Linked DNA regions of Homo sapiens: regions 1, 3 and 4 are each linked to region 2. Evidence: promoter capture Hi-C in human tissues and cell types (Jung and others, 2019). All regions are on one chromosome and are shown on one strand. The core of a region is centred on a gene start or on the middle of the fragment in contact, and the rest is flanking DNA. Distances in the headings are between cores, read along the strand shown. Region 1 has its middle 18 kb from the start of LINC03083. Region 2 holds the start of NKX2-2 (NK2 homeobox 2). Region 3 overlaps RALGAPA2 (Ral GTPase activating protein catalytic subunit alpha 2). Region 4 has its middle 40 kb from the start of LINC03083.

The links. Contacts are between HindIII fragments. The study calls those that stand out against the background at their distance.
Region 1: a fragment that was not itself captured here is called in contact with the fragment with the promoter of NKX2-2 in region 2 in 4 of the 25 tissues and cell types used here (dorsolateral prefrontal cortex, lymphoblastoid cells, mesendoderm cells and 1 more).
Region 3: a contact is called between a fragment that was not itself captured here and the fragment with the promoter of NKX2-2 in region 2, in 1 of the 25 tissues and cell types used here (dorsolateral prefrontal cortex).
Region 4: a fragment that was not itself captured here is called in contact with the fragment with the promoter of NKX2-2 in region 2 in 2 of the 25 tissues and cell types used here (H1 embryonic stem cells and pancreas).

What each region holds. Positions count from the first base shown.
Region 1 is chr20:20,949,491-20,956,207 of GRCh38, reverse strand. No RefSeq gene overlaps it. Among named protein-coding and RNA genes, the nearest start is that of LINC03083, 18 kb to the left of the region's middle. The HindIII fragment of the contact is 5,955 bases long and covers 1-4,594 here.
Region 2 is chr20:21,512,083-21,518,690 of GRCh38, reverse strand. NKX2-2 (NK2 homeobox 2) reads left to right here and starts at 4,627. Exons shown (of 2, transcript NM_002509.4): 1 at 4,627-5,280; 2 at 6,206-6,608. The coding sequence starts at 5,022. RefSeq lists an enhancer at 2,430-2,930. The HindIII fragment of the contact is 15,862 bases long and covers 1-6,608 here.
Region 3 is chr20:20,642,248-20,649,065 of GRCh38, reverse strand. RALGAPA2 (Ral GTPase activating protein catalytic subunit alpha 2) reads left to right here. Exons shown (of 40, transcript NM_020343.4): 5 at 5,517-5,560. Among named protein-coding and RNA genes, the nearest start is that of RALGAPA2, 67 kb to the left of the region's middle. The HindIII fragment of the contact is 6,194 bases long and covers 375-6,568 here.
Region 4 is chr20:20,926,737-20,933,217 of GRCh38, reverse strand. No RefSeq gene overlaps it. Among named protein-coding and RNA genes, the nearest start is that of LINC03083, 40 kb to the left of the region's middle. The HindIII fragment of the contact is 3,405 bases long and covers 3,268-6,481 here.

The DNA.
Region 1 (6,717 bases), core at 368-2,867, 560 kb after region 2:
CAGGAGCTGTTTGGCCTTTTCAGATAAAGCGCTAATGGCAGCCCTGGGACGGCTGCATGGTTATACATCTCCCAGATGAACTAGGGCCTGTGAACACCTCCAGTTCCAATTGTCACCAGCATAGTGTCGGGGGTGATGTGGACTATTCCCTCCAGTGGCAGGGCAGTCCTTGCCTGCCAGAGAGATATGCAAATGAGGCCTTTGGCTCCCGATTTCAGCCAGGCACACAGTGTTTACTGTGATGTGCCCTGGTAGACCAGGAGGCTGGGGTAGGCACTGCTTCTCCACACCTATTAAACAGCCCTGTGTTCTTAGGGGGTCTCCAGCGACTCTGGGTGTCACCTTCCTCAATGGAAAAATGAGAACCATAATAACAGATTTGGATTTTGCCCTCCCTCTCTCAGAAAACAGCAAGGATCTCCACCTTTATTTCAGGATAAAATCCCAGCTCCTTCACCTGGAATTCAAGCCTTGCAAAACCTGGTGCCTTGAAGCCTCCACATGTCACCTCCCACTCCTCCAGGGATCCAGCCCCGCCATTCCTCTGAGCCCTGGTTCATGTCATTCTCCCAGCCTGGCAGGCCTTCACCCCAGTCCTCCATCTCTTAAGACCTTTCCAATCTTCTAAGGCCCAACTCAAATGCCACATCATCTTCTGTAATGGTCCCTAATCACTCTCTCTGACCCCTCAGCACATCTGTGCCTTCACTGAATAGATACAGATGGCAGATTAATCAGCAGGTACATTTCCGAACACAAAGGGTCATATTTAATGGCATCAAATGCTTCTCTGCCTGTCTTTCTCGGATACCTATCTAGCCCCATCATCTAGTTACCCCCCTCCACGTCTCTGTTAAGCTTTCCAACCATCTTAAGCTCTCAACACATCCAAAAAAAAATGTAGCAGTATCTTCTGGCCCCCACACACTCATGGTTCTGCCATTTTCCCATGTTACAGGCTAGGAGACCATGGGGTTGGTGCCGCTTATACCTCCTGTCCAGGAGTCAGATGGCATTTTTCCTTTTCATCAATTTGAGTAATGCATGGACCCATCTTAAAGGGAAAGCAAATTTTCGTGAATCCCCGGGGATAACTTATTTTTATTAAGATAAAACTGTTATTTATGTACAAATGCATATTAGCCTTCTAGGATTATAATTCTTATGCAACTATTAAAGATTTTGCAAATTCAAATAAAAATATATCTACAAAGCCAAAAACATTCAAATTGTTAAAGCTAATTTAACATCAAGAATCATCTTGGAAAGTCTGACTCTTCACTAACAGCACCAATAGGGTACAGGACACAAGGTGGCACCGTCTTTCATTCTCAGCATGGCTGCACTAATCTGGACTCCAGGATGCCTAAATCCTCTTCCCACCCCACACTTTTCCCAATTGAAGCCACTATCAATCTTCACTGGTCCAGCCAGGATGCCATGATGCATTTGGGTGTGAGTTGGGGCAATAGGGATGAAGGATAGATTGGAAAATGAGGAGTGAATTAAAAGAGCTATTTAGGAAGCCAGTGACTGTTAATAAGATCTTGCCTCTTAGCTCCAAGCTCATTCCTCTATACGGTGTTTTGTGATCCTTGTGAGGTAGGAGATCAGAGGGATTTGTTTTCATGACCCTGCTGATCTGAACAGGATGCAGCAAAGAAACCGGCCAAAACCAGCTAGGACTAGGAATTATAATATATTTGCATAAGACACTCTCATCAGCTCCACCACAGTTTACAAATGCCATGACAACACTCGACTTGGAAGTTATCTTAAATGGTTCCAAGAATTCTCCACCCCTTTTCCGGACAGTTTGTGAATAACCCACCCCTTATTTAGCACATAATGAAGATTTGCAGTATCTTACACAGGGTGTAAATAGAGCTAGCCAGCAACCCACGAGTGCTACTGTGTGCTCCTCTGCCTATGGGATAGCCGTGTTCTGTCCATGAAGCAGCCATCTTCTTCAACACGTTGCTCTAATAAACACAGTTTATTAATAAATGCAGTTCTTGACAGCATCTTCTCAGTCTCGCTTCCTCACTTCGCAGCGGCTTTCTTTCACTGTCAGCTTACTCTTGAATTCTTTCCTGAGTGAAACCAAGAACCCTCCTTGGCAGGACCCCAATTTGGGGGTTTGCCTGTATCACTAGGGCTGAAGCCTTATTTCTGCTTTACTAGCTGCTTCTTTTGGGGCTTTGAAAACACAGGGTGTTTGCAGGAGCTGCAAGGCTGAAGTGAGAAGGGACCTGTGCCCTTTAATTGGCTTCCTGTTCACATGAGCATCACCCAGCCACACTTCTGGCTGCTTCCTTTACTTTCAGTTCTTGACAGCATCTTCCCAGTCTTGCTTCCTCACCTCTCAGCGGCAGTTCCTTCCACTGCAGCAATTTGCTGTTGTTATATAATACGTGCAGAGCTAACCTCATTGCTTCTGCTGGGAGACACCTGCCCAAGCTGGCCAGGGCCCCTCTTCAGGGGTCTCAACTTCAACTCCATGGTGTCTCCTCTCCATACTTCTAGGTTTCAGTAGTTCCAACCTTTTCCTTTTTACCCCTTAGCCTTAGACTGGTAGCTGCTTTCTGAAGTTGCTACCTCTGTGACATCTTAGAGGTCATGTTTAACTATTTTAGTTACAAAATTAAGAACCATTTATATGAACTTCTCTCTGTTAAAATAACAGATAAGGTTTCTGTCTTCCAACCGCTACTGACACCATTCGGCTGGCCTGGGCATGATCAAGACCATAGTTCACAATGGGAATGGAGGGAAGTGGCTGGATTGAGAAGATTTTTAGGAGGACAATTAATAAAAGGGTCATGCAAATTGAAAGATGGAAGAGAGAGGAAGAGGAAGGACTTCAGCTTCCTAGAATGTGCAACTGGTAGAAGGAGGTGCCAGAAACTAAGGTAGGTGAGGTCAACATTTTCTGGTGCCTTTGGCCACCAGCATTCATTCCTTCTTCTCTTGCAGGCAGCATGCCTATTTTTATTCCCACGTCCATCTGTAATCCTCCTAAGGATGACATGATGGTCTTTGGGGTGGGACAGGTGGTTCTGTCGTAAACCAGTCAGCACTATTCCTTCCTCTTGGCCATCATGATTGGTTTAGGAATAAGGAGATAGACTAAATTGATCCAATCAAGCTAAAGCCCAGTTATTGGTTTTCTGTGGAAGAGACCCCACTAGCACCAGATAGGAAGGAGCACATAGTCAATGCTGGCCCACAAGGGTGACTCTGTCAGGAATGAATGTGGAGAGGGCAGAGCTAGGACATGGAGAGAAAGATATAGGTCTTGAGCAACCGGGCCCACTTGGCCCAATACCAGCCCTTCCACGATGTTTCCGTCACATGAATTGATTGACTCAAAAACTGACTTATTGTTTCAGCCTTTATTTCATAGTCCAGTGTATTAGTCTGTTCTCATGCTGCTTTGAAGAAATACTTGAGACTGGGCAATTTACAAAGAAAAGAGGTTTAATTGACCCACAGTTCTGCATGACTGGGGAGGCCTCAGGAAACTTACAATAAGGGGGAAGGCACCTCTTCACAGGGTTCCAGGAGACAGAATGAGTGCAAGCAGGGGAAATGCTAGAAGCTTATAAAACCTCAGATCTTGTGAGAACTCACTCACTATCACGAGAACAGCATGGGAAAAACTGCACTCATGATCCAGTCACTTCCCACTGGGTGCCTCCCACGACACGTGGGGATTATGGGAACTACAATTCAAGATGAGATTTGGGTGGGGACACAGCCAAACCATGTCAGCCAGTTTGGGTTGATTTTAGCAATTAGCAGCTAATCCTTCTAAGTAATACAGTGGAGAGCACTAATTAAAAAATGGGTTTGGGGGAAACTGGTGCGCTCAGCTTAGGACCAGTTTTAGGCTTTCAGGAGGAGACTTTCTAGATATAAAAGCAACTGGTATTTACTGCACATTTGCTACAGACCCTGTTTTAAAGGTATTAGGGATACTTAATATTTATACAACCCATGAGGTGGTGGTTACTATTGTTACTTCCACTGTACAGATAAGAATACTGAACCATAGCAGTTAAGGGCCTTGTGTGAGGTCCACCTTGCTCCCTGTAGTCTTTGTTACCTATTAATAGGGTAATAAAGACTTGTGACCCTGAAGCTTGAGAGGGAATTATCTAAATATGACTGTTTTTGGAAACTGATCACCATCTCATGTAAGACTGATTAGACTAATAAATAAGCAGGACTAAGATTTCAAGTCTCATTTGTAGGACATCCCAAACTGTTTGATTCTTCTATCCATCCCCTTTCTTTTGTCTCAGGAGTGTACATTTTAAATTTAGGTTGGGATCCTCCAGAGGCTGACCCTAAGACTGAGACTTGAATGCAAGTCATTTATTTGGAAACAATGCCAAGCAGCACTGGTAGGGGAGTGAGGAAATGGAGTGGAAAGAGACACTTGATCCTGCTGGGGACCCCTAGGATCCTGTGTACAACATGCTTTAGACTCATCCTGTGGAGGTAAAGACACCCTCCACCCTGTGGAGGGTTGCTCGTGGGACATGAAGTCCCTGGCACTTCTGGCCTGCCTCAGGCATGGGCTGAGCAAGTTCTGGGGCAAGAGAGGGCTCTGTCTGACAGCTTTCAATGCCCACCAGCATCATAGGTGCTAATGGTAGGAGACAGTAGGGTTGGCATGTGCAGGAAGGGTGGATGCAAGGCATTGTGAACAGGCATGGGCAGCATCTCCTACAGAAGCAAACATGGCATCAGCTTCCAGCCCCTCAGAGAACAGCTGGTGCATCTCTAACATGAGGGCTGTGAGGAGGAAGCACAGCTTTTATCATCGTTATGGTCCAGCCATTTCCTAACACCCCCAAACTTGGTCTCCTGCACATGGCCTTGTGGTTTGTTGCAAGGGCTGTGGCCAGAGCATAGCATCTTTCTTTGAGCCACTTTCACAACATCTCCATAGGCTGCATTGATCACAATTTGGGTCATGGGCTCAAGTTAGGAACCAGTGGTCTACATGAGATCAAGTATCTAGAGGTTTCCAAGCTTGTTTTAATGTTTTTACTTATAAGACACAAATATTTGGCTATTTCAAATTATCCATTATGTTTTCCTTTTGAATCCAGATATTTGCATATTTCCTTCTTACATCCTTGATGGTGAAGCTCCAGCTCTCCTGTGGAGCCAAAGTTTACTGTTTCTATTTTTGCTCTAAGGGAACATGCGGCAAGTTGTATTTTCCAAAAATGGCCAACTCAATATTTTTGACTCCACATGTTCTTCCAGAGCCTTTCCATTCACTCACCAAAAAGTAAAGTCCATTTCTTCTCCCCTGGAAATTCAACGTAAGTAGATGCTGGGGGAAGTGATGCCATGTGACTTCAGAGGCCAGGTCATAAACAGCCATGTGGCTTCTACCTGGCTTTGTCTGCTTCCAAGTACTCACCCTGGAAACTCAGTCACCATGTTGTGAGGAAGCCCAGGACACAGGGAGAGACAACATGGCCAGCCCCAAATTCCAATGTGCAACTGAATGTGCAATGTGCTTTCAAATGACTCAGGCCCCCAGCATTGGAATCTTCCAGCTGAAGCCCAAGAAATCTTGGACTGGAGGCAAGTTGCTCCTACTCTGTTAATTTCTCATCCATAGAATCCATAAGAAAAATAAATAATTGTTTTGTGCCAATAAATTTTGGGTCATTATTTATGTGGCTGGACAAGCAAGTCTTTCCTTGAAAGGGATTTGGGTGGTGGATCTGTAATGTCTAGGGGCTGAGGGCTTTCAAATTATGCTAGGGAGTCCTAGTCTCGACTTCTTCTCATTCCAGAGAATGTGCCTGAGCAAATCAAGCAACGAACTTGAATCAAATATACAAAGACTGCAGTGTCCCCAACATTACCACAGGGACCTGGGTTGGCCAGGATGCTTTGGTTATGAACAATAGAAATAGATCCCGAACAACTTAGGCAAAACAAGGATGTGTTAAAAGGGCAGGGGCAGCTCTCAGGGCCTGTAGGAAAGCCTAAAGAGCCAGGGCTTGGGGAGGACAATGACCAGTGCCAACTAGAAAGCTGGGAGGTAGACACAGCTTCTTTATAGCACCTTCATGGCATCACCTGAATAAACTGGCTCCCTGACTTTTTCTGTCCTTTCACTTGGTTCAAGAATCAAATTCCCGGGAGAAATGGTCTGATCAGCCTGGCAAGGGTCACATAACCACTCTGTGGAATGGTCACGACATGCTGACTGACTTTCCTATCAAAGCTCTGCCAGATGGCAGGGGTAATAGTGATATCATGGATTGAGCACTTAGCCTGTGGCAGGCTCTTGGATGCAGTCACTTAACTCTCACCACGATGGACCTGTGACTACTACCCTCATTTTGCAGATGAGGAAAAGAAAGCACAGAGAGGGTAAGAAACATGCCCAAGGTCACTGATATGGTTTGGCTGTGTACCCACCCAAATCTTGAATTGTAGCTCACACAATTCCCACATGTTGTGGGAGGGACACAGTGGGAAGTAATTGAATCATGGGGCAGGTCTTTCCCGTGCTGTTCTCATGATAGTGAATAAGAAGTCTCATGAGATCTGTTGAATTTATAAAGGAGAGTTTCTCTGCACGTGCTCTCTAGCCTGCCACCATGTAAGATGTGACTTTGCTCCTCTTTTGCCTTCTGCTATGATTGTGAGGCCTCCACAGCCATATGGAACTGTGAG
Region 2 (6,608 bases), core at 3,378-5,877:
TGCCTCTGGGCGGCCCCCGTGCCCTGGAGCGCAGAAAAGGCGCTCGTGTTTGAGCTACCTGGGAAAGTAAACAGGTAAACACTGAGCCGACTTAGAGGGCCACTTGTCCTGGAGTGGGGCCACTTAGCCTGTGTACATTCGCCTCCCCTCCTGGGCCTCCGGCGATTGTTCAGCCTCCCCGCGCCCGCTCCAGCCGCCTGAACCCGAACTCAATTCGTTGCGGAACCCAGAGCAGCAGAGAGAGCGAGGCTCTCCTCTAGCTTCCAGGGGCACAGGTTCTCTTCCTCCCCTCTCCTGCCTTTCCCCCGGGCGTAGGACTCCCAATGCGTCCGTTCTCAACCTAGGAAGAATGAATAGAGCTAGAGATGTGTACGGAATCTGGAGCCCCAATGCTGATAATAAAGATCGAGTTGAGGGGTCCAGCTGTTCAGGTTACCCCAGCAGGGGCGCGCGGTGTTCGGGACGCTAAGGAGACACCAAGCAAATCTCCTCCGGCCCGGGGCATGCTGGGTTCAGAACTTCCAGCACCCAGCTCAACTTCCTCCCCAAGCATGCAGCAGAACGAGGCATCTTGCAGAGTGCCTACGAGGTCTCCAGACCACGGCAGCTGAGCCCAAAGCTCAAACCCAAACTTGACGGAACGGAGGACATTGAACTCGCTTGGGTGCAAGACGGTACCTGGAAAGAATTTACTAAAGAATGCCGAGTGGGGGAGACCAGGAGCTGAAACTGGTGCAGGCAGACGCTGACAGGGTGGGAGTGGTGGGCCCTTACTGAAGAACCCTCCGGAGGGGGAAGGGAGCGGGGCAGGGCCTCTCAGCCTGCGGGTGTGCGGGATCGCAGAGAACCAAAGCTCCTGGGCTCTAGAAGGCCTAGCTGTGGTACTCTCGGGGAGGCCTCTTGGGGAGTCCTCAGGATGCAATCACCTGTTTAATTGGGACAGAAAAGGTGCGTTTGGCGCCTGGCCCCTAGGCTCTTTGGGCGCAAGCCGGGCCCAAGAAATTGAGGAGACACTGGACTGTGCTCTGGGCACCGGACTTGCCCTGGCCGCCAGCTGGGCCTGCGCAGGCCTCCCGGCGTCCACAGGCCGCTCCTGGGGGACTTGCATTTTATGATCTTCCACTAACAAGCCCAGTTTCTCCCCTTCAATTACGGACCTCCCAGCGGTCTCCCAGCGCCTTTTCAATTGCAAATGTTAACGCTCTGGAAATGGACGCGGGAACCACACGGACGAGAAGTGATGGGGAAATGAGTCTCGAGGTCCCGGGAGAGGCTGAGTGCTGTGGACCCGGAAGCACCGATCGCGGAGGAGGCAAGGCCGAAGCTCTCTCCAATTCTCTCCCTCCCTGCCCAGCTGCCCCCAGGCCAGGGGAAATAAAAACTGGAAGACTCGCTGGGGTGAAAGTGTAGGAGGGGCCGGAGTCCAGGAGGCGTCCTGCGAGGGCAGGGGAAGTGGGCGCCTCAGGTGCTCCGACAAGAGGACACCGCAAGCTGAGACCCAGAAGGATTCGGCTGGTCATTGAGGCTAAGGGGCAGGCGCAAAGGCAAACCCGACCTTTGAGAACTGGGCTGAGGGCCTCCTTCTCTAGGCGCCTATGGCAGCACTCCCTCCCCGTGATTAATTCCAGGAGCCAGGATTCCCCTAGGAAAGCAATCCTCTCTCAGGCGCTCTGCGGACCTTGCAGGCTCCCACGGGTGAGGGGAGGGGACTTGATCAATAGCAGCGGTGCTGATTTAGATCCTGAGAAGAAAGGGTCACTATGCTGGGGAAGGGGGAGAGAAGTTGGGAACTACATGGAACTTCAGCGAGGTGGTTCCCAGCTGAAGAAATGAACACGCTTTGGGAGGCCTCTGCGGGCACTCCCCCACCTAAGAGGGCTCTGGGGATATGCGAGAAACGACACTTGCTGCCAAAGACCCCTTTGCCACCTGACCCAAGAATTTGCCTGGCCCAACCAGATCCTATTCTGGGTCCCCAACCTAGTGGCTGCCCTGGACCCCAAGACAGCCTCCACCCCCTTAGGACTGAGGAATAAGAGGAGGAACAAAAGGAGGGTCTTTGCTGCAACGCTTGGGTTGAGGAACTTTTTTTCTCTCCAGTTATTTATTTAGCAGCTGAGTAACAATAGCAGTGGCAGGCCCACTCCCGCCCCTGGATCCAAACTCGACGCTTCCCCGACTCCTGGAGAACCAACTTCCCTCCTCCGACGGGGCAGAGCGACGAGCTCCCACGTGAAAGGGCGGAGGAGGGGGGGCGCTGAGAAAGACAGAGACGGAAAGCGAGCAAAAAAAAAAAAAAAGCACGAAAAGTAATGGGTTCGAGGAAGACGATTCAAACAAGTTTCTAATTCTTCCAGGGGAAAAAAGGGGGGAAGGAGGGGGAGAAAGGAGAAAAGAAAAAGTAGGAGGAGAAAGAGGAATCGGGGAGCGTCGACATGAAGGGGTTTCCTTAATATTGTGGACGGATTCAGAAATGAATGAAGAGATAGTCCATTGAAAAGGGTTGAATGCCATGACAACTAGGAACAACCTTAGATTTATTCCAAACAGTTAGGACACATTGAAAGAGAGCGTCAATCATGTATTATTTCGCCACTGAAATAAATGCAAAAACCGAGCCGGGACAAAGGCTTCCAACGGGAGCGGGACATTTGTCTACATTTCGCTCATTGTCCGCAGCTTAGCAATCGGTTTGTATTTGTGTTTGCCCGGGTCCGACCACCCAGGACGCGCCGACGAGGGGCTTGCTCTAACCTGGGCCATTGTCACCCACGTCACATACTGGGGGCGAGGCAGCTAGGGCTGCAGAAAGCCGCCGAGCGGCTCGGGGAGAGGTGCCCTCACCCAGCGCTGGCAACCCGGGGGCAGCTGGGGCGCGGCGGCGTCCGCTGCAGCTGCGCGCGAGGAGGACCCGGTGCCCGCGCGCTCAGCTTGGCCCGCGCGGAGGAGCCCAGGTTGTGGGAAGACTAGACCTGGACCCCGCAGGGGTGGCCTTCTGTGCCCCTCCCCGCCCCCAGACAAAGCTCCTTCCTGACACTCCTCTGGGGCGAACGAGCATCAGGTAGCCAATCTACACCCCTGCACCCCCCCCCCAAAAAAGTTTTAACTAGAAGAAGGGGTGGCAAATGCGGCGTGGTCTTTTCCAACCCCAGCGCCGAGGAGGAAGTGCAAGTCCCGGGAAAGTTCAGTTCCCAGAGCCGAGAGTGGCTGGAAACTTCACACTAACCTGACTTAACCTGGAAACGTGGAGCGCGTACTCCGAACGCACCCAAGGCGTCCAAAAAGAGACCACACTAAAGAACTCGCGTGGGAGAAGAAAACTGGGGAGAAAACGAGGCATCGTCGGGCCACCCAGCGACCCCCCTCCCCCGCAGCTTTCTGGGTCTTCACCCAGGCTGGAGACACAACCCCCACCCCCACCCCCGCAATCCCGCCCCGCCGCCTTCCCGCTGCTCCACCTCTAGCCAGAGGCTGGAGAGGGAGGGGGCCGGAGAGGGAGGGATAATAGAGGGCAGGAAAGAGCAGGGCCGTCTGCCCTTTCCTCCACCCGGGGAAAGAGGCCCGCAGAGCCCAGAGGCAGCAGGGCCAGGGTCCGACCCCAGACGAAGTTGGAGCTCCTCACTCTTACCCCGCCCTCCCCGGGACCGCCCGCAAAGCAGAAAGTGAACTGCGCGTCCTCCTTGGCCGCAGAGAGGTGGAGGCGGGGGGTTGGGGGTGGGAGGTGGGGGGAGGCGGAGTGAAGGAAATAAATGAGTCTTTAGCAAATAAAGGGCGGCTGGAAGGGGGCGGGTCGCTTGGTGGTGGCTCTGGCCGGCCCGGAGCGGAGCTCTCTCCTGGGTTTTGGGCTCTCTCGCGGTTAACTGGAATCAATTACTTGCCTTGTCATTTCTAGCACTCATCCTTAAGCCTCAACCAAAATATTGACCTAGGAGGCTTACAGAAGTTGGGCTCTTGCCATTTGAACCGGATCTTGTTTAGGCAACCACCAACGATGGAAAGGAGAGATTTCCGCAGCTCGGCCTTCGCCCCCTCCCCCTTTTCCAAAGGCGCCACAAATCGCCAATTTTCCGGCTTGCCGGGGGTGGGCGCGCGGGGGCGGGGAGGTAGGAACCGGTGAATGTTAAAGAGGATTTTTTCCCTCCTCCTGGTTTCTGTTTTGTTTTCTCCCCTCCTCCTCCCCACCCCCACCTTTTTTAAGATGCAATTTGTTAAAACGGCCCTTTCAAGTGTGTGGACTCGCGAGCGACGCGGTGGCCCTTTGTATGTAAATACTGGGTTTAAAAAAAAAAAGGCTCGCCCCGTCTTTGCAATTAATTGACACGTTACACCTCTCATCTTGCTCTAGAGGGCCGTTGGCTGGGAGCGCGGAGCTCCCCAAAACCCACAATTTCACATCTGCAAATACTGTCTTCATCCACTTGACTCCCAAGACCCGCCCACACGTGGCCAACCTTTGCGTTTTTAATGTCTCTTCCCCCTTTTTTCCACCCTTCTCCCGCTCCCTCTCTCGCTCCCCCTCCCTCCCTCTTTCTTTCCCTCCCTCCCTCTCTTTCTCCCCCTCTCCCCGCCTCCCCAGGTTCGTGAGTGGAGCCCAGCCTTATATGGACTGATCGCTCGGGCAATGGCCCATTTTTTCCTCGCCACCAGCCGCCACCGCGCGCCGAGCGGCCGCCGGAGCCCGAGCTGACGCCGCCTTGGCACCCCTCCTGGAGTTAGAAACTAAGGCCGGGGCCCGCGGCGCTCGGCGCGCAGGCCGCCCGGCTTCCTGCGTCCATTTCCGCGTGCTTTCAAAGAAGACAGAGAGAGGCACTGGGTTGGGCTTCATTTTTTTCCTCCCCATCCCCAGTTTCTTTCTCTTTTTAAAAATAATAATTATCCCAATAATTAAAGCCAATTCCCCCCTCCCCTCCCCCAGTCCCTCCCCCCAACTCCCCCCTCCCCCGCCCGCCGGGGCAGGGGAGCGCCACGAATTGACCAAGTGAAGCTACAACTTTGCGACATAAATTTTGGGGTCTCGAACCATGTCGCTGACCAACACAAAGACGGGGTTTTCGGTCAAGGACATCTTAGACCTGCCGGACACCAACGATGAGGAGGGCTCTGTGGCCGAAGGTCCGGAGGAAGAGAACGAGGGGCCCGAGCCAGCCAAGAGGGCCGGGCCGCTGGGGCAGGGCGCCCTGGACGCGGTGCAGAGCCTGCCCCTGAAGAACCCCTTCTACGACAGCAGCGACAACCCGTACACGCGCTGGCTGGCCAGCACCGAGGGCCTTCAGTACTCCCGTAAGTAGCAAAACTTGGCTGCCGAGGCCGTGGTCCCCTCCATTCCTGCAGCCGCAGCCCGGGTTGGACGCTGGGAGTGAAAGGGGAAGGGGCCATGTAAGCCCGGACCCCCTCACTCGGATCCGTAGAAAGATTTTTAACACCTGTATAGGATGTCCTCTGCCCTCCTCTTCAAGCCTCCTTAGTTCCGGGAAAGAACTTGGTCTCCAAAATTTTTTTCAATGCGAGAAGTTAAGGAGAAAGAGGGAGAAGGGCTATACCTCCCAGGGGCTGGTATATGATGTCAACCCGGACCGATGGCTCCAGCCGCAGCCCCCGGACTCCGGCCGCTGGGAGGGACTGGCCTGGCGCCCTGGAGGTAGCCAGCGAGCCTCGTCCGGGTACGGGTGGAGGGTGGGGAGGCTTCGGGTGGCCCGGGTATAAATAGCTCACCCTGCCCCCTGCGCGATCATAGAGGACGCTTTGTGCAGTGCAGGGGGTGTCTAGAAGGCCCGAAAGCAGAAACGAAAGCCCCCAAAAACCTGCCTTAAATGGCCGAGCCGATCAATGCTGGGATTGTGGGGTATTTCTTTTAAAAATCTGCCCACGTCTCGCCGGAGAGGAAACCGCTTAAGGGCGCCGGAGCCCTTAACCCGCGATGATCTTCAGTGCCACTTCCCCCCCCAAATTCTCACCCACACTATGTGAGCCCCTTGAAAGGCGAGCCCCTAGCCCCCACTCCTACGGATTTCCCTCTTTACCCTGGGAGGTCCCGACGTCTTCGTCAGGCGTAGAGGAAGGCAGGGGTCATGGCAAAGGCAGCGGGGCTGGGCTGCCAGGCGCGGAGGTCCAGGGTCGCACGGAGGATCCAGGGTGCTCCGAGTCTGGTGCAGGCTGCGCGCGGCCTCCAGACGCCTGACGCGCTTCTCTCTCCCCCTCCCCCCAGTGCACGGTCTGGCTGCCGGGGCGCCCCCTCAGGACTCAAGCTCCAAGTCCCCGGAGCCCTCGGCCGACGAGTCACCGGACAATGACAAGGAGACCCCGGGCGGCGGGGGGGACGCCGGCAAGAAGCGAAAGCGGCGAGTGCTTTTCTCCAAGGCGCAGACCTACGAGCTGGAGCGGCGCTTTCGGCAGCAGCGGTACCTGTCGGCGCCCGAGCGCGAACACCTGGCCAGCCTCATCCGCCTCACGCCCACGCAGGTCAAGATCTGGTTCCAGAACCACCGCTACAAGATGAAGCGCGCCCGGGCCGAGAAAGGTATGGAGGTGACGCCCCTGCCCTCGCCGCGCCGGGTGGCCGTGCCCGTCTTGGTCAGGGACGGCAAACCATGTCACGCGCTCAAAGCCCA
Region 3 (6,818 bases), core at 2,222-4,721, 870 kb after region 2:
GGGTGCTTTTACCGTTACTGCTCTGTGCTTCTTCCCCTCCCAGGCACTTCTTTGTGTTTTGCCCTCTGGGGGGGTCCTCTTCTTGCGTTAAACAATAGCCCTGAAACCTCAGCCTCTTTCTTTCACCTCCCTGACCATCTGAAACCTGACTTTTGTCTGAAGCTCCTCTGTCTCCCTCAGGAGTGGGGGTGAGATCATGGTCTTTCTTTTCTCCCATGCCAATTCTAGACATCAGCCACCATTCCCTCTGTGGAAACCTCTGTCCCTTTTACATGCCATCTTCTACCTCCTGGTTGCTGCCATGTCTTTTGACCTCCTGCTCGCTTGCCTTCCCCCCATCCCCCATGGCTTTGTTCTCTCCTAGCCCTTTTCCTTCATGCCAAGTTACCCATCAACCCCCACCGCAATCCTCTGTGCCTCAATGGCTTCAGACACTGATCTCTGTCTTGACCACATCCTCCATTCTCCTGATCTTTGACCCAATCACTTCCAGGTCGCCTGATCTTTTTTTCTTATATTAAAAAAAAAATATTTATGGGGGGTGGTTAACAATTTATACACAGTAAATTACATATATTTAAAATGCACATTTTGATAAGTTTTGACATAGGTATACATATATGAAATCATTACTACCATCAAGATAATGAACATAGGTACTACCCCCGAAAGTTTCCTCGTCCCCCTTGGTAATCCCGCTCTCCCATCTTTTCTCATCTCATCCCCCAGTCCCTAGGCAACCACTGATCTGCTTTTCTGGCCCTTGTAGACTAGCTTGCGTTTTCTAGAGTCTTACATAAGTAGAATCATGAAGTATGTACTCTTCTTTGTTTGGCTTTTTTCACTTGGCGTAATTATTTTAGGGTTTATTTATATTATTTCATGAATTAATAGTTCATTCCTTCTAATTTCTGAGTAGTACAGTATTCCATTGTGTGGACATGTCATAATTCCATAATTTATTCAGGTATTGATGGTCATTTGGATTGTTTCTAGCATCTGGGGCTATTATAAGTAAAGCTACTATAAACATTTATGCTCGTCTTTGTGTGAACATATGGTTTCCTGTCTCTTGGGAGTGGAATGGCTGAACCATGTAACAGTGTATGTTTAACTACTAGACTGTTTTCCAAAGTGGTTGTACCATTTTATATTCCTACCAGCAACATAAGAGCTCCAGTTACTCCACGTTCTCTTCAACATTTGTTATGATCAGTCTTTTTATTTTAGTGATAGTGGTATCTCATTGACTAATAATAATAATCTTAAGCATCTTTTTATGTGCTTATTTGCCATTACTTTGTCTTCTTTGGTGAAGTTCAAATCTATTGCCCATTAAAAAAAATCTCAGATTGATGCCTTGGAAATATTTTCTCCCCATTTCTGGCTTGTCTTTTCATTCCCTTAATAGTGTCTTTGGAAAAGTTGAAGTTTTTAATTTTTAAGAAATCCAGTTAATCAGTTTTTTCTTTTATGGATTGTGCTTTTGATGTCATGTGTAACACATGTTTGCCTAACCCAAAGTCACAAAGATCTTTTATGTTTTCATATAGCAGTTCTATAGTTTAGGTCTTTGATCCATTTTGAGCTAATTTATGTTAATTTCAAATTTTTTAGTGGAATGCTGGTTCCTCATGCTTAGTGTGGATCTTGTAGTGCCAGGAAGTTCTCTGTTCGTATTCCACTGGCCTCTTCTAGCAGGCTTGGCATACCATTAGCCCAGAGGGAGTTTCTCTCTTTCTTGCTTCTTGTTTGATGCTGATGGTGTACTGCATTGTGTGTAATTTGGTTTGAAGTGTGATATTGAGAAGGAGGTTTTAAAAAATTAAAACTAAATAAGAAAAGATTTTATAATGTTAAAGTTTTAGGTGAGAAATATCTGTATGATCTCCTGGCCTTAAAAATATTATTAAAAGATCTTTAAAAGATTGTTACTTGTTCAAAGAGAAATTGTCAAATGTGACAATTCTTACAATCTAAAATGAGAAGCAAAGAAATAGATTTTGAAAATATTATTGATGAATTTGCTTTCTTCAGAGCCAGGAAAGTAATATTATAATACATTCTTTGTTATAAATAAAATATTTAAACTAATGCTGTGAGTTTTAATACATCCAATTTTACATTTTTAAGCTACTTTAATGTTCTGCACGAGAAAAAAAAATTAAAAGTACATAGAAACACACATACAGAAGTATACCCTTTTTCTTTTCCCTCTGGTTCCTATATGGTTCAGCGGAACATTAGTAATTAAAAATTTAATATTGTTCATTATGGATTCTTTGCATTTTTTAAAATGCAATTTTTAAAAACCATTGCATGAAAATATTTATCTTGATTAATGAGTTTTTTAGTATCCCTTAAATTTTTTTCAGAATCTACACTCTTCTCTCACTAGTTGCAGCCCTGACGTTTTTACTGCCTCTTCAAAAGTAGTAAGACTTACATTCAAAGGATATTTATGGTTAAAATGTAGTAAAAGTTAGCCAATAGAAATTAGAAATTCATAGAATCAGCCCAAGTAATTAGATCTTATTTACTTATTCTTTCAGTTATTCCCATGGTCAAGGCACAGAAGAGGTGGGGTGGGTATAATTATAGTTTGAATAAGAAGTTTAAAAATCCAAACAGGCATGACATATATAGAGGAACTTAAAAATTAAAACAAAATGAGAAATGACTTGATAATGTTAAAGTAGAAATATCTTTGTGAACTTAAGGCCTTAAAAAATACCTACAGAGGGCTGGGCGCATTGGCTCACACCTGTAATCCCAGGACTTTGGGAGGCCAAGGTGGGCGGATCACCATATGGTGAAACCCCATGTCTACTAAAATACAAAAAATTAGCCAGGCATGGTGGCGCATGCCTGTAGTCTTAGCTACTCAGGAGGCTGGGGAACAAGAATCACTTGAGCCCTAGAGGCGGAGGTTGCAGTAAGCTGAGATCGCGCCACTGCACTCCAGTTTAGGCTACAGAGTGAGACCCCATCTCAAAAAGAAAAAAAAAAAGCCCTACAGAGGCCAAGCAAGGTTCTCAGCTACTTATTACCAGTCCTCATGCTATGTGCCTCCACTGCACATGTTTTTCTTGCTAATTTTTTTTTTTTTTATTATTAAAAAAGAGTTCCTTAGAGAATAGCTGATGCCCTGTCCTGTGTGGAAAATGTGCTTACCACATACCCGGCACTGTTCTGTGCATTTATATGTATTAACTCGTTTAAATCTCACTGTCAGTTGTCTGATAAGTACTATTGTCACCTCATTTTACAGATGAGAGAACTCAGGCATAGTGAGATGAAGTTACTAACTTAGGTTACAGTTAATAAATGCAGAACCTAGATTTGAACCCTAGCAGTCTAGCTTCTGAATCTGACTTATAACTGCTAAGCTGTACTGCTTCCCATGTACAAACGAGTTTTTCACTACAACAGAATAGACTAGATCAAATACATATGTATTAGTTTTCTGTTGCTGCTGTAACAAATTGCCAGATAAATTTTAAAAAGTTTGGGACCATTGACCAATATGGGTCATGTGTTCTATATGTCTGCATGTAATGCCCTTTCTATATGTATTTTTCTCCTCTGTGTGTAGAGAACAGTGGTTATAGGCATCTATAGGTAGTCCAAATACTTAAAAAACAACACTAACGGCCGGGCACGGTGGTTCACACCTGTAATCCCAGCACTTTGGGAGGCCGAGGCGGGTGGATTGCCTGAGCTCAGGAGTTTGAGATCAGCCTGGCTAACACGGTGAAACCCCATCTCTACTAAAATACAAAAAATAGCCTGGCGTGGTGGTATGCACCTATAATCCCAGCTACTCAGGAGGCTGAGGCAGGAGAATTGCTAGAACCCAGGAGGTGGAGGTTGCAGTGAGCCGAGATCGTACCACTGCACTCCAGCCTGAGCGACAGAGCAAGACTCTGTCTCAAAAAAAAAAAAAAAAAAAAAAAAAAGCACCACCACCACCAAAAACAAGCCAGACCCATCTTAACAAGGGGAAGGACTAACAAGCACCAATGCTCACACACAATGACCAGGAGAAAGTATTTCCAAGAATATGTTGCAAGATGATGGATTAGCCAGATGGCTGGAAAGAGAACTGTCTGTGCAGACTTTATCATTAGGTCTCCTGGGAGGTCTAGTATCTGTTGGCTCTGCCAGCCACCATAAGGTGTAATGAAGTAGATGTTAAACTGACTTAGAACAAACTCTCCAAGAATGGATGAACATGGGGACAAAGAACAAGGCCCCAGGTTGAGGAAAGGTGTGGGCTAGATGGACACTTGAACCTTAGCTGTGACAGAGAGAGCCAGCCTAGTAAATGTTGGCTCTAGACCAAAAATTACTGGATACAGTTTTGTGAAGGGAGAAGTTGGGGAAGGGGAGACACTTTCGCTTCATTCACTCAAGCACAAACTATTAGTTATTTAAGTGCTAGAACCTAGCCTGAGTCATGATGATGAGTTTCCTCCAAGCCCTAGTGTTAGTTGTTATGAACAGTAGAATCGTTCTAAAAGGTTCCTTCGGATTGCCAGTGATTTTTTTCTGGCTAATGAATTTCTAAAGAGTATGCATTTAGTTATTATATATGTATTTATCAATGTAGCTGTGGCTTGTATCAGTTGCCAAAACACTGGCTCTCTTGTTAGAGGAGCTCTATGAAATTCATTGGTGGAGTAAATATTATTTGATATCCAGTTGTTAAAGAGCTATCACAAACTTTTCATCAGAGGATCTAAGTAATTTTTTTCTTAAAGGATCTGAAATTTGACTGAGAGGAAAGTTCTCTTGCCTCAGATTTTCAGTATATTTCTGTTTTAAAAGATCATCTCCTTTTTTGAGGTTAAGATCCCGTTTTAGAGGCTACATAAGATATTTAGGTGGGGTTGCCATCTCCATACTGAGGTCATGAATACATTTATAGAAGACTTAGTAATAGTGTTCTATCCTCCTAAGAGAAGCTTTTCTCATTCTAGTGGGCTGCAGCACCAGTTTTTGTAGTTGACTGGAGTTCCGAGTCAGCCTTGATTCTGCCTCCTTGACAGTGACCAAAGCGCTCTGCTAGAGGATTTATTGATGGACCAAACCCCATAAATGTGGTTGTCATTGCCAGGAGAGAAACATGCCATTCTAAGTATTTGTAAAATGTTCTTGTAAAAATGTTTTGTGAGCAATTGTTTTACATTATTTTTACCTTTAGAGATTAAAAAAAAAAGCATCCATTTTATGCATGACAAGAGATATATGCGCATAATCCACTGTGGGCATTTGGCTTACCTTAATATCAGTCATTTTGACTGTTTTAAAAGAATTCTGAAGAGATACATACTTAAGGTACTTTTATCTTGAAAACGTCTTTCCCTCTGTGACATTGCTTTGCTTCTGAAGGTCAGCCTTCTTCCTTTTATTTTTAAAAAGTATATTTTTGTCATAAGTACATATTTTCTTAAAATAGATCTTTGATATGCATTTATATACTCTATTTATAATTCATTATTTTAAACTTTCAGGCTCAACTTTAAAGAAGCTTCTACACACTGGAAATTCTATTAAGGTATTTATTTTATTGTGTAATGACATTTTTTATTACTCTTAAATTTGTTAATGCCACAAAGTAACAATGTTAGGGCATTTTGGAAAAAAGATCTTTAGAAACCACTTGACTTAGTTTTAATTTTTAATTGAGAAATTATATTGTTAGGGTTTTGTTCTTACATCATAACTTATTGCGAGAGACATTTTAAATAGTATTAGGAGAAAATGGGTTGGGCTTCAGAGTTTAGAGTTCTGAGTTCTAATTCTGATTCTGCTGGGTATGGGTAGGGACCATGGGCAAGGCACTGACTGCTCCAGTTTTATCATCAGAAAAAGGAAGTGCAGTCGCCCTCTAAGCTTCAGAGCTCACATGCTTGATTCTGTCCATCTTGGTAACCTGGTTGTTAAAATTATAGTTGTCTCTAATTAATTTTACTAATTGTGAGAGCCATTGTGGGAGAAAAGAACAACAGGGTCTCACTCTTGAATATTTATTTGTGGCAGATTTATAGGTTAAAATTGGTTTATTTTGAAATGGATATGTCTTTTATTATAACATATACTTCTTGATGCTGAGATAAGATTACCCTAAAACATAAATGGCAGAAAAAATTCAGCCTGGGATGAATATTTTATGAAAGGTAATTCACTTGGAGTTAATTAAGTTGTGCGAATGCCTTTAATAAGCTAATATATTGGTTGGTTTACATTGGCTTAAACAATCACAGCCTCTGAAAACTTGATATGTTAACTATTTCTTACATGTTGAAAAAAAACGAAGTGAGTTATTCCTAGCGTCACTGTAGATTCTATATTTTGTCCCTCTTATTTTAAGGAAATAGGCTTGTAGTTAAAACCTATCAGGTTGTTAATCTCATGTTTATAACTACCCTTATTTATATTTAGTTCTCTTAAATACAGTTAACATATAACAATTGGAGACTTGTGGTAGAATTTCATAGAAACTTCCCTCTTGTTCAATTAAATATAATTTGATTAGATATACATAGAGCTGGCCAGGCACAGTGGCTCATGCCTGTAACCCCAGCACTTTGGGAGGCCGAGGCAGGCAAATTGCCTGAGGTCAGGAGTTCGAGACCAGCCTGGCCAACATGGTGAAACCCCGTCTCTACTAAAAATACAAAAATTAGCCGGGCATGGTGGCATACGCCTATAGTCTCAGCTACTCGGGAGGCTGAGGCAGGAGAATTGCTTCCACCTGGGAGGCAGAGGTTGCAGTGAGCTGAGATCATGCCACTGCACTCCAGCCTGGGCAA
Region 4 (6,481 bases), core at 3,721-6,220, 590 kb after region 2:
GGACAACAATGCAAATGAGTTGTACTGGAGAATAAAACATTTGAGACAAAAAAAAAAAAAAGAAACATGAGTTTGTCATACAATATCACGGCAACTAATAATGCTCAGACTTAAAAAAATGACATTGTATTATGGAGTTTTATTTCCTGTCCTGGTGGGCAACCAACCAGGCATAGCAATTCTGAATTCAAATACTGTACAAGGATATACAGTAACTACGGTTCTCTGAGGATTTGAGGAAATGTCAGAAAACCAAGCTCCAAGTCAAATTTATTAGTTGGTGCAGATATCTAACAATTTTACATAGATGCTGATAAGGCCATCTGGGAATCCCTTTCACCATTAAGTGATTTAGAGGCCCCTATAGAAATGTCCTAACCTGCTACATCTCACTAAGCCACCATCTCCCCCGACAACAGCAAACCATGCTAACACAGCAGCACTAGTTATTTGCTTTTTTAACGGACATATTTTTCTTTAAATGCTTCTTTCGGTAAGACCCACAGATAGAGGGATTTCTCATGAAATCTGTCAAAGCCAGAATGAGAGATGTGAATAAAACTTTTTTAATTTCAGTGTGGGCCTAATAAAGAACAGTCCTTCTTCCAGACCTACTCTCTTCCCTGGTGCATGTTTCCAGTTGAGTTGCTAGAGTTCCGGGGAAGAGAAGTTGTTACTAATGGATGGAAGTTTCCAGCTTCATCTGGCAAAAGCTTAGCTCCTGAAGGCAGCAGAGAGTAAAACTGAGAGAGGCCAGAGTGTTCGTGACCAGGCCTTTATTTTAGACTGGTCACTGGTGGGCAGGATGCACTTGGACAAGGAGCTCATCAGTCCAGAGCTCCGTGTTCTGAACCCGCAATTGGCACTTGAACCAACGGACCCAGAACATTTCCTTCTGGGTCTAAGGATTTCAAACCTGAGGTCCACAGTCCTACCCCCACACTGTGGTTTTCCCGTCTCTCCCTAGATGTCACCTCTCTCTTGCTTCCTTGTCCACTCCATCACCACTCTAATATTGTCTCTCCCCTATTACTGCCAGACTATTCTTCAACCCATCTCTAGCAATGCCAAGGAAATGACAAAACACAGCAACTTTTCCTGCTACGCGTGCCCTCCATATTTGTTGAACTTGAAAATTATCTCAGAACTTGGAAATAATTTTGAAAAGTTGGTCTCTCATACTTTTGATTAGTAATATGGACAGAGAGTCGGTTCTGGAATGTAAAGCCTGGATCCCTACTTTCAACAAGTGTGCAGGTTGGTCTGGTTGGGAAGAGGGACTGGGGAGTGGCTGAGTCTAGGCCTCTTGGTGCACTGGAAGAAACTCCCAGTGAGGGCTCTACTGCAGCCTGGGGAAATGTTAAGATGGCTTCTTGTCCAAGTTAAATCTTCAAAAATCAGCAGGAACCAATCAGCCGGCAAATTCGAGGTAGGACTGTCCAGGTGTTGGTAAGACAGCAGATGCTTTCAGGGAGCTGTAAGTAGTCAGGCACTCCTAGGGTATAAATTACAAGGCTGAGAGTGGCTGAGAGAGAACTGTTAGGCATGCAGGTCTCTTAAGGTGCTGGGAAACTTCACCTTTATCCAGTACTTAACAGGGCATGGGAGGTGTTCAAGACTCTTGAAGAACAGAGAGGTACAAGGTCAGATTTGCATTTCCATTAGGTTGCTCTGTTCTGGTGAATAGGTAAAAGACAGATCTGTGACGGGTGAGGAGGATGGAGACTATGTCAGGAGCGAATGCAGGAATCCAGGCAGGGACGATCCTAAATAAGTAATGGCAGCAGAGGTGGTGTAGTAATCCAGGGCACCCCCGCAGCCACACAAACACACCCTCAAATTTCAGTGGCTTTAGCATCACAAAGGCTTCTGTCCTTGTCCAATGGGAGTGTGCTTCTGGTCATGGGAGGGCTTCACCCACGGGTAGCTCAGCAGCCCCAGATCCTTTCTTTCTTGCAATTTCACAGCCTTGGGGACCTCAAGTCCTGTACATCTAGGCAGAAGGGAGAAAGAGAGAGTGGAAGAGCCCCACCCACTTCTTGACAACCTTGACCAGGAAGACACACACGTCACTTCCATTGTCATAGGTGAGAACTGGGCATGTGGCCTGCTCAGTTGCAAGGTCATCAGCTTGGAAATGTAGTCTTGACTGGCTGCTGCTTCCTGGCAGCAACCCCAAACTATGAATGGGAAAGTTTGAAGTTTGGAGGGCGGGTAGATGTCTCTGCAACAGATGGAGTGGAAGGATCAATGGATAGAGAGGGGGTGGTGAGGATAGAGAGGGGATGGTGGGGATAGAGAGGGGATGATGGGGATAGAGAGGGCATGGTGGGGATAGGGAGGGGATGGTGGGGATAGGGAGGGGATGGTGGGGATAGGGAGGGGATGGTGGGGATAGGGAGGGGATGGTGGGGATAGGGAGGGGATGGTGGGGATAAGGAGGGGATGGTGAGGATAGGGAGGGGTTGTATTGTCAGGATCTGGGGAGCATTTCCATGTGGCTGAAAGTAGCAGGTAAATGGGGAAGGGGAGAACTTCTTCTTTTCTGCCTTAGGCAATAGTGATACCAGTGGAGAGCTGAAATATAAAAGAAGGAACTATATTTTTTTTCATTTTGTGGGGAGATGATGTATTTTGCTTGGTATATATGTTGGGCCAGGTTAGTAGAAATGGAACTTAAGATGAGGTTTGTGTACAGGCGACTTATTAAGGAAGTGCTCCCAGGGGAGACTAATAAGGACATGGAGGAAGCGGGACAGGGAAGGGAATAAGCCCAGCAGGGATGAGCTCTCGGGTAAAGTCCCACCCTCAGCCTGACCCAAGAGGGGAACTCTGGCCCTTCTGGCTCTCTGTATTATGTGGAGAGCCCAGGTTCATTCACCCAAGAGAGTGACAGGTGCAGGCAGGTAGAAGCAAAGCCGCAGAGAAGCTGGAGAAGGAGAACACAGACATGACACACGGGACCCCGGAACATTTGGACGGAACTGCAAACAGCATCTGCTACAAAGTCCCTTAAGAAATACAGTAGGGAATATGAGCAGATGATGGGACACCTGAGTCTGAAGCCTGAGAGAGGGCAGGAAAGAAGACACAGATCCAGGATCCTGCACATGGGTGGAGGTTAAGACCACAGCAGTGAATGAGACCATCATGGGAGAGAGTGCAAGATAAAAAAGATGAGAAGACTAGAACGTTAGAGAACACTAATGCGTAAGCATTAGGAGAAAGAAGAGACAATGAAGAAAACTGAGAATGAGTGTCCACAGAAGCAGAAGAAGCAGGAAAATAGGGGGTCACCTGCCCCAGAGGAGTTCAGAGAGACAAGGACTAAAATTGAATCTGGCATTAGGGAGGCCATTCCCTATTTTGGCTAGGACAGAATCAGTTTCATCCTGCCAAAAACCTCCTCTTTATTTTGTATTTTATTTGGCAACAAGCATGTGGATTCTTATGGAAATACCACAAGGAAAGGGTTAAAAGAACATTTGGGCTTGTTACTAATACCCACAGGAGTTCACTTCTTACTCACGCTCACACCTAAGATATTTATTGTATCACCCTGTGAGATAGAGACTCCTCGTTTCAATTAGTGGAAAGCTCGCCATTAGCTAACTAATTAAGGCTATTCTCTCACATCTATTTTCTAATTACAGTCACCACTGAGATATTTTCACCCAAGTGGCCAGCGATGCTGTGGATTTATTTTAAATTTAGTTTGACAATAACAAACAACTAATTAATGTTTACAAATATAATAAAATCCCTCCTGACGAGTTGTGGGTATTGCATACACTAGCAACCAGTTTATTAAAACATTAATTGCAGTTGGATTTGTTTTGGGATTCATGCATAATCCATTCAGTACATAGCAGGACTAACTCATTTTGAAGGGATTATGAATGAAATCCTCCACAAAGTCTTTCGTTTAATTCACATTGTAGTCAAGGAAGGGGAAAGTTTGCTTTCATCAAATTCTGTGGCTCTTCAGCATTCTTCAGTGTGGTACTTCATTCATTCATTCCTTCATTCATCCATATAGTATTTATCAATCATCTATTGTGTACATAGCTCTGTGAATACATGAAAAATGTGTTCATGGGTTATGCAGATGAAAACTGCAAAATTCAATCAATCAAGTGTCTACATTTCTAGCTGAAGCGTAAATTGGTACCCCCATTTTGGAAAACTGAAAGTGTCTTCTAAAGCTGAATACATCCCTACCTTACAACAGCAATTCTACTTGTAGGTATATACTCAACAGAAACATGTCCATATGTTCACTAACAAGACACTTGTGACTGTTCACTGCAGCATTATTTGTAGTAGCCCCAAACTGGAAACCACCTGAAAGTCCATCAACAGTAGAATGGGTACATAAATTGTGGCATAATCCCGTAATAGAACACTATGTAGCAATGAGAACAAACAAGCTACAAAAACAAGCAAAACTGGCCAGGAGTGGTAATCCCAGCCCTTTGGGAGGCTGAGGTGGGCAGATCACCTGAGGTCAGGAGTTGGAGACCAACCTGGCCAACATGGCGAAATCCCATCTCTACCGAAAGTACAAAAAACAGCCAGGTGTGGTAGTGGGCACCTGTAATCCCAGGTACTCGGGAGGCTGAGGCGGGAGAATCGCTTGAACCCAGATGGCAGAGTTTGCAGTGAGCCCAGATCGCGCCATTGCACTCCAGCCTGGGTGACAGAGCGAGACTCCATCTCAAACAAACAAACAAACAAACAATCAGACAAAACAAACAAACAAACAAACAAGTAAAACTAACAAGTCAGGATAGTGGTTGTCTTTAGAGGTAGGTAGTAAACAAGAGCTTTTGGAATTCTGGTAATGTTGTCTCTTCATCTTGGTTCTGGTTATGTAACTGTGTCCAGATTATGAACATTCTTCCATTGATTATAATTTATGTACTTGTTGTGTATTTATATTTTAATAAAATTTGCAAACAAACAAAAGTAAACATCTATCAGTTAGAGTCTTGCCTTTGTTCTTACATGACTGTGCTTGTTCTAATGAAAGTGTTTACATAATTATTTATGGCTGATCATTGATTGATTTGTTTGTTCATTCCACAAGCATTTTGGGGGACCTAATTAATTTGCAATGCTGGTGCGGATGAGTATGTATGAAGATATAAAAGCACATCAATCATGACCTCTGTCAATCATGGCCTCTGTCCACAAAGTTTTACAGGACATTGGTGGAGAAAATCACATAAAGCAACTGTTATAATACAGTATGGCAAATGCCAGAGTCACAGAAAAAGGGCATTTAAATTAAACCAGGGCAGGAGGAAAGTAGGTGAGATGTTCAGGAAAGGAGTAGAGGACATTTGCTGCCTCACGTCCCTTAGCATCCTGTCACCCTATTTAGGCAACAACCCCTGAGTTTTATTTGTGGACCAATCCATCACCCATTGGTCCAGGTGAGGCCCCAGCCTTTGGCCCTAGGACTACAGGATATGAACCAGGCTAAAGACAACCAGCATACTTCTTCCTCCAGCTTCTTGGACTTGTTCAGAGATGAGCATGTAACCTAAACTAATGCTAGAAAACTGCAGGAATTGTTTTAAAGCCTCTTCTTTGAAATTGAGAAGATTATGAATTAGAGCAGTAGCAGCCATCCCACCACTATTTGGAGCCTGACAATGTAGTCACCACACAGAGATGGACAGGGCTGAATCCAGAGGCCAAGAGAGACAATGTTTTCTGGTGACATCAACTGAGCCTTGGTCAAACTGAGCCCGAAGCCTGTCCTACTTTGAGACTTTGCAGTTAAACAAATTAATAATTTCTCTTTTGCTGAAGCTTATTTGAGTTGAGTAGCTGTTTTTTTTTTTAATTTGTAACTGAAAGATATTTAACTGATACTGAAAACTTCCAAGAGGAAGTGTTTGCACTGACCTTTGATGGTAAAATAGGAGTTAGAATAATGAAAGGGGAAGGAGCATCCCAAGAAAAGTGCAACATCATTCCAGAAGGCAGGGACAGGTGAAGAACTTGAGTCTGATCGAGTTGGTGCAATGAGGATGGGTTGGGTGTGAGTAGCAGAAGCAAGTCAGGAGTAGCACACAGGGCCTGGATCTTGTTGCCTGTGCCACCTGCCACCCTGCTCAGGGCCACTGAACCCGTATAATTCCTGTGCATGGGACAATTTCCTCCAGCAAGCACTTGCCTCCCACTGGCTGTAGGAACAGGGTCTGCTCTGGCTCACATTTAATACCCCAATGAGCAGCCCTCCACCCAGGACAATAGGTGTTAGTGAGAGAATGCCCCAGCTTCATCCCCAAGTGAGACATCTCAAGGCGTGTTGGACACCATCTCCCAGAAGCCCAGTGTGACTGAGCCCAGCTGCCCAAGCAGTGACCTGGTCAAGAATGGCCTGGCATTGACTTAGTCATCTATTGCTGTAATAGATGACTACCCCCAAATGACAGGGCTTACAACAATTATGTATTATTTGTCTTGA